2 separate regions of the Homo sapiens genome follow, and region 2 is linked to region 1. Evidence: promoter capture Hi-C in human tissues and cell types (Jung and others, 2019). All regions are on one chromosome and are shown on one strand. Each heading gives the region's core, a stretch centred on a gene start or on the middle of the fragment in contact. The rest is flanking DNA. Distances are from core to core; before and after follow the strand shown.

Evidence for each region. The method cuts DNA at HindIII sites, captures the fragments that hold promoters and counts their contacts. A contact is called where the count stands out against the background at its distance.
Region 2: a contact is called between a fragment that was not itself captured here and the fragment with the promoter of EXPH5 in region 1, in 1 of the 25 tissues and cell types used here (spleen).

Annotation. Positions count from the first base shown.
Region 1 is chr11:108,592,410-108,595,109 of GRCh38, reverse strand. It overlaps EXPH5 (exophilin 5), which reads left to right and starts at 1,342. Exons shown (of 6, transcript NM_015065.3): 1 at 1,342-1,692. The coding sequence starts at 1,574. RefSeq lists silencers at 1,156-1,455, 1,476-1,525, 1,806-1,865. The HindIII fragment of the contact is 7,491 bases long and covers 1-2,700 here.
Region 2 is chr11:107,982,040-107,984,739 of GRCh38, reverse strand. No RefSeq gene overlaps it. Among named protein-coding and RNA genes, the nearest start is that of CUL5, 26 kb to the left of the region's middle. The HindIII fragment of the contact is 3,165 bases long and covers 1-2,700 here.

The sequences.
Region 1 (2,700 bases), core at 93-2,592:
CCACCAGTGACCATATTGAAAAGTCCCATGTGTATGCTGAATAAATGAACACACTAGAAAAACTGGACACCATATACAAGACATACTCCCAAAACAGGATCATTAATACAGACACTATTTATAAAGGAGTTCTGTATTGTGTACACCATGGGTGAACAAAATTGGTTCCTGGTTCACACAAATAACAGACACCCACAGAAAGTTATCTGAATGGCTAGCTGCCTAGGCATGTTTTAAATAATGATGATCAAATGGGGTAGCCCAGAGAACAAAACACAAGTGGCAATTTTTGATATCATGTTCTTGTACAGATACAAAATTTTAATTGGGTTTATGTGCCATGAAAAGAAATGATATATGTAGAAGTACATTTTATATGTTAGTAATCATCACCACCATCTTCAAAATGACCAAATTAAGGCTATGGGGCAGGAAAGTCAATCTGACAGAGTTATTTTTGGGTAGGAAGTGAAGCCAAGATAAAAACATGTTTTCTGTAAAAGCCTTGATAATTAAAAAAAAAGTATATATGTGAATATCTTTATAAGTTTCTATTATTCTTCATTGCATTGTGGAACAATTGACTTTCTAGGAAAGCTATTTCTGTGGCTTCATAGGATTACCATTTGCTTTCACCAGAGGATTAGGTATTTTTAAATGGCATGTGTATTACTTCTCTGAGTTTATTAAGATGATAATAAAATCTTACAGAAAACTTCTAACAGGTGTTTTCTACAGTCCTTTGCTTCTGGGCTGTCTTCTCCTAAAATACCATAAACGGTTTTGTTTGTTTGTTTGTTTGTTTCTAAAGTCTAAGAATGACTTTTGTGGGACAGTGGAGGTGGGGGTGTCTGTGGGATGAGAGGCTTGGCAAATAATTCGTTTCCAAGGATACACTAATTTCCGCCCTTCAGCCAGGTTCATCCACAGTCAGTAGTGTAATTGAGTTTAGTTCTTCCTGGTCTTTCAGATAAGTAACCCTTTTGCCAGTTACAAACCCTACTTGCAATTCTATTTTCTATGGGCTCTTAATTATTGAAAGGGAGGATTAGTCATGAATCTCCTTTTTCACTCCTTTACTAATCAAGCTCAAGTTCTGCGAGCAAACAGCAACAGCAAAAGCAAATACTTTGGCGCCAACACTTAGCCTTGCCTCACTTAAGAGGCAGAATTATGTAGGCTTGTTTGCTTAACAACTCAGATAGGGGGCGGGGAGGGTGACCGGAGGGGACGAGGGAGGGGACGAGGGACGGGACGAGACGAGGGAGGGGACGAGGGAGGGGACAAGGGAGGGCCCGCCCCCTTGGAACGGGATTGGTTCCCTCTCTCCCTTTAGCCGTTCACTTTGCATCTCGGTTGGACAGGTTGAGAGAAACATGTCATTAAGGTATTGTCAATATGAGCCCTTCAGGTGTGGGCGTTCCCTAGGTTTGTGGTTTTAGACTTTCAAAGGGGCGGACTTATTATTGGCTGTGGGATCAAGTTCGTGAAACTGGTCTTGTACAGGTTGAAAAATGCCTTCCTAACAGGAGGCGCCAAGGAGCTTAAGTGTAACTCACACACAGTAAAGAAAATGACGAAAGTTCCTCCGGCGTTTGATTTCAGTTTCTTAAATGACGAAGAGGCCAGGAAGATCCTTCAGGTGCTGGAAAGGAATGAGGAGTTACAGAGGGCCGAGAAGGACAGGATCAGGTACAGAGCAAATTCATTTCTTTTGTCCTGGGCCTGGGTCCCGCAGGGGCCGGGGATCCGCGGGGAAGGCGCTGAGCTCGCGCGGGGCACCTGCCCGGGGGTGCTCCGAGCGGCTGCTGCGGAGGCTGCGGGTCGGGAAGAGAAAACTGCGCGGAGTTGCTCCCTGAAGGACTTTGGGATGCTTAGTTGGTACCCTCTCCACCCACCACATACCAGACGGGCTCGGCTGCGGGTCTGGGGTCGGGCAGGGTGGGGGGGTCCGTGCGCTGCGGGGGCCGCGCAGTGACGCTGTGCTGTGCCGGGTGTCTGCTGGGCCATCGCGGGGCGTGGGCCGTTTCAGGCAATGAAATGCGGCGGGGGCGCGATCTGGAGAGGAATCCTGGCTGCTGCTCACTCCGCGGCCCGCGCGCACCCACGTGCTCGCACGGGTCCGACAGAGCTTCCACCCTCGCCTAACGCAGTTTTCCCTCGGCACCAGAGGCGAATCTCCCCACCCAATGCGGGCAGTCAGCGAAGCACGGGAGAGCCGGCACCTCACGGGAGGCGAAAGGTCCCCACCCCAAGGGTAGGAGCTCGAGGAATTTGTCAAATAGAGGCTTATGTGGGCGAATGGGACTTGGACACACGGGGTTGGCTGGAATGGGTGGGTCTTCTTGTGCGTGGTGCTGTGGGGAGCGAGTTTCTGAGAAATTTCATCCTTGACCTTACTATACACTGTTGTAGGTGAGGGATTAGTTACTAAAGAATGAAATCCAGAGACACAGATAATTACCCAGGATGTACATTAACCAGTTTTTCTGCTGGGGAAGTGTGGGATAAGTGCTGGAATGAATTAAAGGGACTCTCTCGCCAATATTGGAATATATCCATCTAAGTCCTTCTCTAGATAACTGTGGAAGGGAATTCAGGACATCACTCTCAGACCACACTGTGTGCCATTGATTGGAATTTAGCAAGTCATTTTGTTTTATGATCAACTGCTTGCTAATGCGAGTTCCAGGTTCCCAA
Region 2 (2,700 bases), core at 96-2,595, 610 kb after region 1:
ATGTATGGTAGTCTTGGCAGAAACATTGCGTGCAAGATAGGCAAACCCATATCTGGGCTAAGTGTCTATTCCAGTGAGGACAAACCTCTGCCCTTTCCGTGATGCAAGAGGTCCAATATAATCAACCTGCCACCAGGTAGCTGGCTGATCACCCTGAGGAATGGTGCCATATCGAGGGCTCAGTGTTGGTTTCTGCTGCTGGCAAATTGGGCACTCAGCAGTGGCCATAGCCAGGTCAGCCTTGGTGAGTGGAAGTCCATGTTGCTGAGTCCATGCATAACCTCCATGCCTGCCACCATGGCCACTTTGTTCATGGGCCCATTGGGCAATGACAGGGGTGGCTGGGGAAAGAGACTGAGTGGTGTCCATAGAATGGGTCATCCTATCCACTTGATTATTAAAATACCTCCTCTGCTGAGGTCACCTGTTGGTGAGCACTCACATGGGATACAAATATCTTCATGGTTTTTGACCACTCAGAGAGGTCCATTCACATACCCACTTCCCCAAGTTTCTTTGTCACCAATTTTCCAATCATGCTTCTTCCAAGTCCCTGACCATCCAGCCAAACCATTGGCCACAGCCCATGAATTAGTATGTAATCACACATCTGGCCATTTCTCCTTCCATGCAAAGTGCACAACCAGGTGCACTGCTCAAAGTTCTGCCCACTGGGAAGATTTCCCTTCACTGTTCTCCTTCAGGGATGTCCTAAAAAGGGCCTGTAGTGCTGCAGCTGTCCACTTTCGGGTAGTGCCTGCATATCATGAAAAACCATCTGTAAACCAGGCCCTAGTCTTCTCTTCCTCTGTCAACTGATCATAGGGAACTCCCCATAAGGCCATTGGTGCAGGCTGGAGAAGAGAAGGCAGGGTGGCAGGAGCATTTGAGCCACTTCCACATGTAACTTACTTGTGCCTTCAGGACCTGCTCGAAACTGATCATGTATGTACCACTTCCATTTGATGATGGAATGCTGCTGTGCATAACCCACTTTATGGCTAGATGGGCCAGAAAGCACCCAGTTTATGATAGGCAGTTCAGGTCGCATGGTGACTTGATGACCCATAGTCAAATGTTCAGTTTCCACCAAAGCTCAGCAGCAGGCCAAAAGGAGAGTAGTTATCTGCAGAAGATAGCAGAGCCTTGCTCTAAAATCCTAGAGGCCTCCACTGTGATTCACCTATGGTGGCCTGCCAAAGGCTCCAAACAGCATTCCTCTCTGCCACTGACATCTCAAGCACCATCGGATCTACTGGGTCATATGGCCCAAGTGGCAGAGCAGCTTGCACAGCATCCTGGACCTGTTGCAAACCATTCTCCTGACCCCACTCAAAACCGGCAGCCTTTTGGGTCACCCGATAAATGGGCCAGAGCAACACACCCAAACGAGGAATGTGTTGCCTCCAAAATCCAAATAGGCTCACTAGACATTGTGCCTCTTTCTTGGTTGTAGGAGGGGCCAAATGCAGCAACTTATCCTTCACCTTAGAAGGAATATTTCAACAGGCCCCACACCACTGGACCCCTAGAAATTTTAATGAGGTAGAAGTTTCCTGAATTTTAGTCAGATTTATTTCCCATCCTCTGGCATGCAAATGTCTCACCAATAAGTCCAGTGAAATTAAGGAAACTCAGAAAGCCAATACCCATTTAGTAAGATGGACACCTGAAGCAGAAGCGGCTTTCCAGGCCCTAAAGAAGGCACTAACCCAAGCCCCAGTGTTAAGCTTGCCAACGGGGCAAGACTTTTCTTTATATGTCACAGAAAAAAATAGGAATAACTCTAGGAGTCCTTACACAGGTCCAAGGGACAAGCTTGCAACCCATGGCATACCTGATTAAGGAAATTGATGTAGTGGCAAAGGGTTTGCCTCACTGTTTACAGGTAGTGGCGGCAGTAGCAGTCTTAGTATCTGAAGCAGTTAAAATGATACAGGGAAGAGATCTTACTGTGTGGACATCTCATGATGTCAACGGCATACTCACTGCTAAAGGAGACTTGTGGCTGTCAGACAACTGTTTACTTAAATATCAGGCTCTATTACTTGAAGGGCCAGTGATGTGGCTGCACACTTGTGCAACTCTTAACCCAGCCACATTTCTTCCAGACAATGAAAAAAAGATAGAACATAACTGTCAACAGGTGATTGCTCAAACCTATGCCACTCGAGGGGACCTTCTAGAGGTTCCCTTGACTGATCCTGACCTCAACTTGTATACTGATGAAAGTTCCTTTGTTGAAAAAGGAATTTGAAAGGCGGGGTATGCACTGGTCAGTAATAATAAAATACTTGAAAGTAATCCCCTCACTCCAGGAACTATCGCTCAGCTGGCAAAACTAATATAAACTATCACTCAGCTGGCAAAACTAATATAAACTATCACTCAGCTGGCAAAACTAAAATAGCCCTCACTTGGGCACTAAAATTAGAAAAAGAAAAAAGGGTAAATAGAGATACAGACTGTAAGTATGCTTACCTAGTCCTCCATGCCCATGCAGCAATATGGAGAGAAAGGGAATTCCTAACTTCCGAGAGAACACCAATCAAACATCAGGAAGCCGTCAGGAGATTATTATTGGCTGTGCAGAAATCTAAAGAGGTGGCAGTCTTACACTGCCGGGGTCATCAGAAAGGAAAGGAAAAGAAAATAAAAGGGAATAGCCAAGAGAATATTGAAGCCAAAAGAGCCACAAGG